2 separate regions of the Homo sapiens genome follow, and region 1 is linked to region 2. The links are contacts of gene promoters, found by promoter capture Hi-C in human tissues and cell types (Jung and others, 2019). All regions are on one chromosome and are shown on one strand. The core of a region is centred on a gene start or on the middle of the fragment in contact, and the rest is flanking DNA. Distances in the headings are between cores, read along the strand shown. Region 1 overlaps SHB (SH2 domain containing adaptor protein B). Region 2 holds the start of SLC25A51 (solute carrier family 25 member 51).

Region 1 (6,030 bases), core at 2,610-5,109, 38 kb before region 2:
ACTGCGTATGGCAATGAGCTGCTGACAGACAGTGTTCCCAGCCCAGACAGTGCTGTGTCAGTGTTATCTAGTGTGATTCCCATAACCCTGCCCCTGTTTCCTGGGGTCAGCCCTGCAGTTTGATTGAAGTCCATTTTTAAGAGCCACAGGAAGGACCCATTGTCCAGAATTCTGGATAGGAGTCCTGTCCTGCCACTCGCTGCTCCCTGTGTGACCAAGTTTCTTCCCCTACATCTGTCCAGTGGGGAGTTGGGCTTTGATGGGCTCTAAGGCCACCTCCACCAATGACATCAGGGGTTCTCTAACTCTCCCCATGTCCCCATCTGTGGGCTGGACCACCTGCACCTCCCAGGTGAGGGGAGGACGTCGAGGGAGACTGGGAAGGCAGCCCAGCAGCCTCTACCATCAACTCTGTGTTTGCCTTCCCGCACCCATCCCATGGACCTCATTATCAGGAACTGTCATTTGGGTGACCCATCTGAGCCCAAAGGAGCTGGAGGTGAGGTCTAGTTTTGCATGCAGATCTAGAGGCATTAGATCACCACCTCCAAAGGCCGGGGTTGTTCTCACCTGCCCAGCTTTCCCCTGAAGAATGCCAGAATTGGGGAGGTGGGCTGGGCTGGGCATCCTATGGCTGAGCCAGGCAACCCACTCAGGGGAGATGAACTTGCTTCCCAGAGGAGCCCCAGCTCCCGATGGCCAGTCCAGCTGCTGGTTGGGGAGCAATGCCCTGGAATGAATCACCTCAACCGCAAGGGGAACCGTCCTGGTACTGCATATCCTGGCTGCCTGGAGCAAGCACCATCTTTGCCAGCCACCAAGTGAGGGGCCTGATCTCTCAAATACTCAAGGCTTGCCTGGCAGGGGTGGGTGGGGAATGGCATTCTTGACACTGTCAGGAGCTTGGTGCAAATTGACACTGGAATTCCAGCTATGCTGGTTATCCGCCTCTGGCCATTTTCATGTGAGTTTGTCCTGCCCTGAGGGTGTTCTAGGATGAAGAAAGGATCTGGGGGAGTTCAGCCTCAGAGGACACCCCGTGCACCCTTCCCTCAGCAGATATTTTTCAGAGCCCTCCGTACCAGCCACTGGGCTGGGCATCAGAGAGAGTCCAGAGGTGAGAACAGTCAGGCCCAGCCTCCAGGGGCTCAGCCTGGCCAGGCCAGCCTGTGTCTTGTTGTACACAGGTCTGCACAGGGGGGTCTTGGGAGCCCAGAGCTGGCATGTGGGTGGGCAGTCCCTGCCACAGAGAGTCAGGAGAAGCTGCAGGGAGAAGGCTGCACCTGAACCTTCAAGAGAAGGCAGGTGTTCCCCAGACAGGGACGGCTAGCAGGGCAGCTCAGGTAGAGGGGACAGCCCAGGCAGAGCCATGGAGGTGCAGGAGAGCCTTGGCGGGTCTCGGGGGCTCCCAGAAGAGTTGAGATGCAGTTCTCAGTGATGGGGCCACTGACGTGCAGGTTGCACTCACCAAGGTCCTGCGAGGCATTTTCTTCCTCATCTTAGGCTGGGGGAAGCCGAATGCCTGCCAGGGTCCACAGCAGAGCCAAGACTGGAGTGGAGGCCATGGGACTCCCAGCCATGTCCTCCCATCTCCTCCCCGGCATTCCTTACACTCAGTCGAAAGGTCTTCTGACGTCAGACCTAGAAGTGTTTGAGACCCATTTACTCTAGTCCCTTTGCCTCATGGGGGTGGGGAAACTGACACCCAGAAGGGATTTAGGGTTGGTGTAAGGCTGCCCGGCTGGCAGCTGACCACTGACCACAGAGATGGTGACAGCTTCCCACTGTGGTGACCAGACAGGTCCCTGGATCAGCCCAAGCTGCCACCTGTCGGCATCCCACCCCCCAACTTTCTGCACTTGCAGTGACCCACAGTGGCGCCTGCACACCTCATGACATCTCAGAGCCCCCTCCATGGCAGGGGCCCCTACCTGTGAATCGTCTTCGGCGATTCTGCCTGATTGCCCTTGAACACTTTCCTCATCCCCTCCTGCCTGCAGAACTCTCTCCCTTGGCTGCCCGCCAACTCATTGACCTGGCACCCACCACTGGCCCCTGGATACTCTCACTCCAGCCTCAGGGAGCAAAGGGTTGAGCTGAGAAATTGGCAAGAAAATGTCAAACTCTTAACACAGTTTCCTGTCTCTGGAAAGGCTGGCAGTGGAGGAAAGGGATGAAAAGCCTTGAAAAAAATCTCATTAAAAGGCTCTTCAGGCACTTTGGCCTGCGAATGAGTCTTGGCAAGTTCTGGTTTGGTGAGTTTTTGCAAAGGAATGTGGACAAGATGAGGGAAGGACTTCAAAGACTGGGGGACTTCTAGCTGGGGGCAGACAGCAGGGAGGCGGGGTGAGTGCTGTGGCCTCCAGTTCTGCTGGGCAGGCTCTGCCCTCATGGAGCAGGGATCCTGTGTGACCCATGGGAAGGGGCACCGAGTGGCACCTCTGAGGCCTCTGCAGTCAGCAGCTTTGACAAGGACCCAGCCCCTGCTTGGTTGAGGTGGTGAGAGTCCCAAAGCCAGTGGGGCTAATGGCTGCATACAGTCCTTACGGAGGGACCTTTGGCTTTCTAATCCCCGAAGGCAAATTGCCTGGCATCTTGCAAACGTGACCTAAGGAGACACCTCTGGGGTCTGGCCTGTTTCCATCATGCTGTGGCACTTGGTTGTTCACAGCCTCTCCAGCCCAGCCAATGAGCTCTGCCCCGTCCAGTGTCAGTTACTGAATGAGCTGTAGCCCTGCAGGAGCTCACAGCCTCACAAGGAAAGGAAGACACTTACACCTATAACTCACGGAGAATGTGTTCAGGGCTGCCCGAAGTAGAAAGTACTCTTTCTATGAAAGTTTCCAGGCTATGAAAGAGGGAAGGAATCAGGAAGGGGAATGTGAAGGATGAGCAGGTCTTAAACCCATGCACAGGGGAGAAAAGGCAGGCTGCAGAGAGAATGGGCCCAGAGACAGGGCAGGGCGGAGCTTGCCTAAGAACAACAAATGACACATTCATCTGAGCCCAAGAGAGATGTAGCCCTGATCACCAGGTGGAGGGGTCGGGGCTTTACCTGTGAGGCAGCAGGGAGTTCTCAAGGTTTGAAACAGGATGCAGTGCTATTGTCAGGGCTGTATTCTAGAACCATGAGTGAACTAGGGGGCCCATGAGTACTGGCGAGGAGGGATGCCAGCTTCTGCCTCCCTGTCCCCCCAGTGATCCCCCCCTTCCCCTCCATGTCCCTACACATGCCACGTGAACTGGCACAGACCGAGAGCTGGGGAGGGGCCTGATGTAGGAGTCCAGAAGGCGAACAGCACGTGGGCAGGCATCCCAGGAGACCGAGGCAGCCCTTTTCAAGATGGAGAGGGACAACACAGGCTCTGCAGTCAGATATCTGAATCCAAGTCCTGCTTCCATCTCTTTCCCCGCACCTGATGCTGGGCAAGGTACTGCACCTTCCTGAGCATCACGGGATGCTTGCCTCAGCAAGAAGTAAGGCTTGGCAGATAAGCCCTACACATAGATGGTGCTCAGTATATACCAGTCTCTGCTTCTCCCAGCTTTTCCAGAGCCTTCAGAAATCACCACGGAAGCAGCAGAGTAGACAGAGCCCTGGGTGAGTCCAGGCTGTCCCTGCTGCACTAGGTGACTTGGGCAGGTATCTGGCAGGTATCTTCTCCACTTGCATCGATAAAATGAGGGTCTGGGGTCTGATTAGTAAACTTGCTTCCAGTTTAAGGGTTCTATGACTAGACCACTTTCCTCTCAGTCCAAGGATGGCAGGAAGGTCCCATCTCCTCCAAGGAGGGAAGGAGGAGCACGACATTATCAAGAACTTGCCTCCTGTCCTTCAGATTGCTTGATGACGTCTATTTGTATCCGGCTTAGAGCAGCCGGGTTTGTGTTGACTGCTGGGTACTCAGTCTTTAGCCGGCAAATACCTCCTGTAGCTCCGAAGGAGGTTGGGTGGGTGTAACAGGGCCAAGAAGAGCTGAGGGGCACTGGGGGTGCGTGGCAGTTAGGGTTGTTTTTCTTTTGTCTGTCCCTTCATTGATTAATATAGCAAAGGAGAGAGTTTTCAAACAGTAGGCATGTCTGGGTCCAGGCAGGCAAGTGATTAATCTTAGTTTGTTGCTGCTGACAGCTAGGAGAAAGAAATAATAAAGGTTTAGGGGCCAGTGGGAGTGGGGATATGAGGAAAGGCTGCTCTCCCCTCATCTATCAGCAGGGAGCAAGTCTCCACTTCCTTCTGCCGTCCAAGCATCCCCTTGTTGGGTTAACATCTGAGACTCCAGACACCTAGCTCCGTGGTGGTTGCTTGCTCCCATGTGTGAGCCACCAGGGTGGTCCCTGCAAGGCCACAGTGGGACCTCCCTGGCCATTGTTGAGTTCCCCACACAGCCCCAGCATACCTGAATACCTGACAGTGGACTTAGTAGGTCACTGTATTCCCCAGCCAGGCCCCTGCAGGGATGATGAAGCCTTTTAAGAGCAAACTTCAGGGAAGGCAGGTGTGTGCAGCTCAGGTACAGTACTGCTTGCCTCAGGACCCCCACACTGCTCAGCAGTGGTTGCAGGGGCCCTGAGCTCCTGGCCATGTGCCCCATGACTCCCCCAACAGAGGGAGCTCTGCACAGCGGTGAAGACAATGGCTCTGGGTCTTGGCTTAGGCTCTTGAAACCCAGCTCCGCCACATACTAACAGGGTAGTGTTGGGCAAAGGGACTGAACATCTCTGAGCCTTGGTTTTCTCATCTATAAAATGGGTTTCACAGGTGTATTAATGAAGACACAATATATGTGAAGTGCTTAGCATATGCTCCAGCATATAGTGAGTGCTCTATCAGTGGTAGCTCAAATGTCTTTATTATGGACCTCAGAGAGCCACGGGTTGTTGGGGAAAGAGCTCGGTGTGTCCCAGTGCATTGCAAATTGTCTGGGTTCAACCTGGAAGTCTCCATCTGTGCCCACATCCACTGTCCTTTACGATGATGGGTTCTAGATTTTATTGGCTACAGCTGGAAAGAATGCTAGAGAATCTCACAGAACTGGAGTCCAATCCAGGCTCCCCTCTTCCTGGATAACCTGTCTTGAACCTCTCACCTCTCTTGCACTCTGTACGTTGTGCTTTGGTGTGACCTTGGATGAATGAGTGAACTTCTCTGACCTCCTAGTTGCTCATCAGGAGCTGGAGATGATGACCACTCAACAGGTATCCTTTTTCATCACCATGCTGCTGCCCCTCCAGCTCTCCTGCCCATCTTCCGAACTTGTGGTCTGGCCTCCTCATCTCATAGGGAAGCATGTTGGCAGCCAGTCAAGGTAGCAGCTCCAGGAATACCCTAAGCAGAAATCTTGGGGTTTAGGGAACAGAAAGAGACTTTTTCAATTTTCTGGTCCAATATCTTGAACAAGTGGAGATACTGAGGCCCAGAAAGAGGAAGAAGCTTGCCTGCCTCTGGCTTTCCCAGCAGGCAAGCTGTTTGCTAGCAGCATTTGAGCCAGCCTGAGTCAGGGCAGCAGGGGTGGTGGGGGAAGAGGGGGTCTGTCTCTTTGCTCTTATCGCATGGAGGATTTCATGTCCTTTCAGGGCTCATGGAGGAAAAATGAACTTTCTGCTCAATTAGCGTGCTTCGTGTTTTCTCCTTCTAAAAGGTTTAAAAGAAATGCCACAATTAGAAGCCACTGCTGTAGGCAAAACAGAGACTCCTCAAACACTCTTTGCAGAGGACTAAATGAGAACAGTGAACTTTAGAATGTGCAGATGCCTTGCAGGATAAGAGAGTGCACCATTGAGGGGACACTGTGAGGAATATTAGATGACATTTCCCTTTATTCAGAATTACTGAGAAAATGTGCCCTGCTGGTGGTAAAACATTGCCAAGGACGCCACCCTCAACATTAGACTGGCACCTCTTCTGGACTCTGAGCCTGGTGCTTTGGTGATTCTGGTGCAGTGGGGGTGGAGAGTGTAGGAACAGCCCTGGGCCTATGCCCAGGAGACCTGGGTTCAAATCCTAGCTCTGCCTCTGACAAGTTACGGGAT
Region 2 (6,369 bases), core at 2,582-5,081:
CTGCAGCCTCAACCTCCCAGACTTAAGCAATCCTCCTGCCTCAGCCTCCCAGGTAGCTGGGACTACAGATGTGTGCCACCACGCCTGGCTAATTATTTTATTGTTTATAGACAGGGTCTCACTGTGTTGCCCAGGCTGGTCTCAAACTCAAGTGATCCTCCTGCCTCAGCCTCCCAAAGTTCTGGGATTACAGACATGAGACAGATCTATTTTTTAACCAGACCTCTAGGACCTAGAATCTAGGTCAATGCTTTTCAATCTGTAATGTGCACACAGCACACCTGGTGAACTTGTTAAATACCAATCCTGGTTTACTGGGGCCAGAATTCTGCATTTCTAACACATTTCTGGGTGACTCAGTGCTGGTGCTGTCCCTAAGTGTATGGCCCATAGGTAGTTTGCCCAAATTCAAGAGATTCTTGTCTTCAGGCACATTGGGGAAGCAAGAATTGAGCACTGTTGTTCTCAACCTCAGCACACCTGGGAAGCTTTTAGACTATACTAAGGTTCAGGTCCCACTGCAAACCAATTAAATCAGAACCTCTGGGGCAGGGGAATGGGGCCGGGGAGTGGGGCGGGGGGTGGCTGTTGTTTTGTTTTCAAAGCTTCCCAGATGATTCTAATGTGAAACAGGGCTAAGAATCACTGATTCAGTGGGGCCCCACCACCATTAAAATGAATGAATGAATAAACTGAAGAGAACAAACAATCTCCCAGGCTGGCAGGGTAAACCCTGGGTCTCTGTTATATGTTATTAATACAGATGCACGTGAGTTGCTGGATCAGAGCAGGTTTGGACATGAATGAAGCAGAAAGGGAGAAGGTCCTGGAGTTCACAGACCAGCCATGGGGACAGACTGCAAGGACCTGAGGTGGGGGCAAGGGAGGGTGGGGCTGACAGCACTGAGGGGCTCTGCAGCAGGACGTAGTGAGTTCAGATGGGGCAGCAGTGACCAGAAGCCTCTGAACTGAGCCATGCAGGAGGAACAGGACATTGTTATGAAGCAAGCAAGACCTTTTAGGCACAGAGGACAAAAAATACCCAAGCGTTGGGGGACGTGAAAAGAATGCAGCAAGTTCAGGGAAGGGAACACCAAGGGGCTGGCTGGCCCTTGGCCATTTGGTACTGGGGGTGTGAAGGGGAGTGGCAGAGATAGTCACTCACAGTAGCTGATACTCCACTGACAGCTTGCGTAAGGCTGTTTTCGTGCACCTAAGAGCCAATGAAGTCTGAGGGCACCAGACAACCTTCTAGAAAGCATTTTTTGAGGGGAGGAGTGGAGGGTGATTAAGCAAAGATCCACCAGCAACCTTCTTATGGCCCTTTCCCCCAGGAACCCAGGCCCTGCCTTCCAACAGCTCTGCTCTCCACCCGCATTTCATTTCGGCAAACATCTCCTAGGCGCCCTTTTTGCCAAGCACTGAGTTGGAGAGCCAGGAAAAAGCCAGACAGCTCTGCCCTCATGAGCTGGCGGTGGGAAAGATCACACTGTCATGAGTGACTACAACATAGGACAGGATGTCAGAAGCGCCCCAAACTTTGGGGCATGGGAAGGCAGGGGCAAGGACAGTCAATTTTGCCTGAGATGATCAGGGAAGCCTTCTAGGAGGGAGAGGAGGCAAAAGGACCTTGAAGGGCTATTTGGTGAAGGGCTAACATGTATCAGTGGTGAAAGGGGGAAACAGGCTTAAGGAACACAGGATTTGCAAAACACTGAGACTGCATATGGCTAAAGCACAGAATATAGTTGGGGTTGAGGTGGACAGACTGGCAAAAGGGCCAGGACAGGACAGCCCCGTGCACCGAGTTAAGGAGTTTGGATTTACTGGGGGAACCAAGAGGGAACCAAGGGGGAACCATTGGAGATTTTTAAGCTGCGGGATGACATGATCACAGCTGGGTTGGAGGATATCTGGCAGCTGACCTAGTGGTTGGAGGTATGGAATGCAGGAATGGGTGGATGAGGACAGAAATGAAGGGCTAACTTTAAGATGGATCTGGTATCCAAAAATAGAGGGTTTTCATCCCCAACATTCATATGCCCAAGAAGAGCCAATGAAGGGCCTGGGGGTTTCTGACAAGGAACTAAGAGCTGGAGGGGCAGAGGACTGTGCTGTGGCCTGCAGCAGCATAAAAGAAGCAGACTGGGCTCAGCTCCAGACCTCAGTTTTCCCGTTAGCCTGGGATTTTCTGAGTCTGGTGTGCCCCAATTGTGTGTTTAATTTCAGTCTTTTCCTTCTTGTTCAGGTTTTACCGCAGGAGAATAACCTCTCCATTCTAATCTGAAATTAATTATTTATGCTTATGAACACGCTGGATGCCTGCCTGGTTTATTTATTTTTCAAATAATGCATCTGAATAGGCATTCACACAAGACAGGGCAAACATAATTTTGAGGCAAAGGCCCTTTCCAACTGTTGCCCGATTAACTGTTCTAAGCCATTGTGTAGCCTTGTCCTTATCCTGCGGAGTCCAAAATTTATCCCTCGCGTACTAATTAGATGGCAGGTGTCTGTGTCTGACAGTCAAGATTCGCATTATCCAGCCCCACCACCTGACCCTTACAATCTTATCTCCTGCTGCTATGACTTTCTCCACTGGGCCAAATTCCACTCATCCATCCTCCAAGGCCCAGTTCAAACGTCTGCTCTGTGAAGCCATCTCTGGTTCTCCCTCGAGGGGGGAGGTCCCCTCATGCTTCTGAATTTCCAGTCTTTTGTTGTTGTATCCTTCATCAGACGCTAAGCTCCCCAGGACCTGGCACGCAGTAGGTTCCTCAATGGAGCGTTTGCTGGAATGGGGGAGGGTGGTCTCCAGCTTCCCGAGAGGCACCTAAGCACGCCAGCCAAAGTGGGGCTGGGCAGAGACCAGACCCGCTTTTGGAGTCAGTGTCTACAAAGTGCTCTCGGGGGAAGGGGGCACGCGGGGAACGTCGCCCACCCGGAGCCGATCCCCCCAAGAACGCTTCACTCGGGTGGGGTTACTGCTTGGGCTCGCCCCAAGCACAGTGCGCACACTTCACACATCCGCAAGCCTCCTGAAACGCCTCTCCCCTCAGGCCGACCTTTCTGTTTCCTTCAACGCCTCCCATCTGTTGTGTGCGTTCCAGTTTCCAACTCAGAGTCAGAACCATCATTTCCAAAGACTCCTGCAACAGCCCGAGGACGCATACAAGGCATGGGTTACTTTTCAGACGGAGATTTGGGGCTCAGGGTCCAGCGACTCACCCAAGGTCACTCTCAAGAAGTATGAGGGCTATGACTTTGACCCAAGCCTTCTAACTCCCCGGGCAGCGCTCCTCCCAAGCCCCCCGCAAGCTGTCTGAGCTTCAAAGGAAAAAGTTTAAAAGTGATCCATACGTCCCAAAGCACGCACAAAGCGTTCTTCTGTAAACTGCGGCATGGGTCGCTGATAAAAGGTCCCTCTGAAGGTTTGAAGATACTCAACAAGGCTCCACAGAGGGTACTTTGGAGTTTTCCGCGAAGGCGCTCGCCCCGCAGAACCGACAAGGCCCCTAAAACCGACAATGCCCAGACGCCCCCTGCAGGCAGCGCGCTAGAGAACGCGTTGGCTGTTTCTGGCACGCTGAGGCCACCGTACGGCATCAAGGGTGAAGCATGGTGGCTAGCGGAGCCCGCATCCTGACAGGTGTGCTGGCGTGGCCCTCTACCTGCCCCGCCGCGGCGGCCTGCGGCCAGGAGAAGTAGGCTGGCGACATCTGGCGGGCCGCGGGCCGAGGGAGGGGAGGCGGGGCGGGGCGGTGTCTCCCTCACGTGACCCCAACAGCGCCCAGCGCGTCGCGCTGCGCCCCAACCTCGGGGTCGGTCACAGTCTGCGCCTGCGCGGGCCCCGGCTCGCTAGCCGTCCTGCGGGACGCCGGCGCTGATGGGTGAGTGTGGGACGAGCGTGGGGAAGCACCGGGCTTTCTTCGCATGAGGTTGGAGGGAGGGGAAACGCGCTGAAGGGCCCGCTGGGGCAGGCTGCCGCCCTGGGGGCCCATCCCTGTCTTCTGCGCGCTCCGGCTGCCCTGGCCCGGTCCCTGCGGGCCCCACCCAGGCGGCGCGGGCGGAATCAGTTCTGAGCCTCCTCGGCTCCGGGCTCCCCCGCCTGCCGCGGGTGTTTGTCCGGCTGCTGGGCGACCTTTCCCGCGAAGGCGCTGTCCCTTCATTCGGGCGCGCCCTGGGCTGGGGAGGCACCTCCCTGGTGCACAGGAACCGCAGGGGCGGGGAGGAGCCGGGAGCTGCCTGCGCCCGGGGGACAGCGGGGATGGCACCGCGCAAGGGCCTCTGCGTCCCGGGAGACTGGGATTTCGGCCTCACCTCGGGACCCCTGACTGTGAAGTGTCAGAAACGGAAGAGGACTTAGTGATCTTGTCCAACCCCCTCCCCGCCTTTCACAGGTTGGGGAAATGGACGCCTGGAGAACGGTAAGTTCAGCTACATAGCCTGGCAGTGCTTGTTCTGCGACAGCATATTGCATCGCGTTGTAGGAAGCTCACTTGTACAAGGATTTTCGGGGACGATGGTGTTGGTGGTGTTAGTCTCCATCCATTATTTGGTGTTCAGTTTAGCTAGATGGAGTATGTCAGCACCTCAACTTCCTGCAAAACCTTTGTTTTGCATCTCACAGCTCTACCTAGCTGATCTTAATTCCCACCTTCTGTTTTTCTCTACTTGTAATCTCTGAAACAGAAGCCCTTGAAATGTATAGTGACCTTGCCATTTTGAGCCGCCTCTGCCCGTGCTTTGAAAGGATTCCATAGGATCAAAAGGTGCTAGGACTCTTGAGGTCCCATAGTGGTTTAGAGCACAGGTTACCGCTTTGGAACTGGAATCACCCTTAGCGCATCTCAGGGGAAAACAAGCTAGGAGTTGACTCATCTGATCTCTCGTTTGGTAAATGAAAGCAAACTCAGATCAGTGGATTTTAAAATCAGATATTGCTTTGTCTTTATATTGGCAAGCTAGTGTCGTAACTAGGACTAGACCCAGGCTGATCTTGTTCTGAATGCTGACTCAGACCTGCTGACTAGTGGAAATTCACATCCTTTGAGAATTGGAGTCACCCTCTCCCCAGTTTTTGCAGAGACCTTTGTGCTAGGATCATATCTGTATCATGCTGATCCATGTAGGCTGTAAATTATAATAAGGTTTTAGACTTTACACTGTTTTCTTAGTCACAGAAGCTTGACACTTGTAGTTGCTTGAAAATCAAGTTCATTAACTGCTCCCTTATGATGAGATAGTTTTACGTAGCAAACAAGCGTAAAGTTATGGTAAATAAATTTTGCAATAAATTGCAAAGAATTATCCACATTAATGAATAAAAATATAAAGATCAGTTTAGCAAAGAAATTTAACCATGTTCACAGTATAGGTAAACATGCAAAAGTCTAAACTGTACTACCAAATAATGCTGTGCACATTATCCTTCTATTGCTAAATTAAGAACATATTCACACCATCCTGGTGTGTAGGATTAAACTAGAGAAAAAGCTTTAAATCTGTAAAGTCCAGGAGGGTTTCATAACATTTTTTCCCCCATCTAGGCCTATTTTTTAAATCTGAGAATCTCAATGTACAGTAATGTTCTTAAAATAGTTGGATATGGTGGTCAATAAATGGTTAACTTCTGTTAGCTGTAGTTTTCTGCTTGTTTAATAACAGTCCCCATTCTCACACAGAGTCATAAATAAACTAACCTTTATTTGCAAAATTTCAGAAAGTAATACAAGTAACATTCCAGTAAAAGTGAACATGGACAAAATTTTTATTGTTGTTCAAGTACACAAATAACTTGGCTTGTACTGTCAAGGAGCATGTGTAAACAGCTTGTAGGTGGTGACTTTAGAATTTAAAATATTTTGTGTGCTCCGTATGTAAAAATAAAATGGTTTTGACATTCATAAATTGTCACAATATCATGTAATCATGTACATTAATCTAAATATTCTTGTTGATTTAACATTGTTTAATTCTGAAACTGAAGAAGTGCAAAGCATTACATAGGTATCAAGCATTTCTAGACTAAGTTTTAGGACTTCAAATATTGATTAATCTTAGCTTGTAAGTGTACTAATAAGAGTTTTTAACTCATACCTATCAGCTGAATCAGTAAAAAGTAAGGATGTAGTAGAACTAATAATTATCAAACTCAATACCCTAACAGACTTCAGTGTCTAGAACATATCTTGAAGTTAATCATATTAAGCCCCAAAACTCTGTACATTAAGAAAGGGAGAGGAGAGAGGGAACAGATGATATTCTGGAACCTTTTTTTTCCCTTTAATCTTATTTTTACTGTGAATAACAACACTAGACTCACTGAAGATTTTGGGACACTTACTAGCAAGCATAGTTAAGACAAAA

Evidence for each region. Contacts are between HindIII fragments. The study calls those that stand out against the background at their distance.
Region 1: a contact is called between a fragment that was not itself captured here and the fragment with the promoter of SLC25A51 in region 2, in 1 of the 25 tissues and cell types used here (bladder).

The regions. Positions count from the first base shown.
Region 1 is chr9:37,940,081-37,946,110 of GRCh38, reverse strand. The region is part of intron 5 of SHB (SH2 domain containing adaptor protein B); the gene reads left to right. Among named protein-coding and RNA genes, the nearest start is that of SLC25A51, 39 kb to the right of the region's middle. The HindIII fragment of the contact is 4,559 bases long and covers 1,580-6,030 here.
Region 2 is chr9:37,901,589-37,907,957 of GRCh38, reverse strand. SLC25A51 (solute carrier family 25 member 51) reads left to right here and starts at 3,831. Exons shown (of 3, transcript NM_033412.4): 1 at 3,831-3,890. It also overlaps the pseudogene PAICSP1. RefSeq lists a silencer at 3,631-4,390. The HindIII fragment of the contact is 6,842 bases long and covers 1-5,341 here.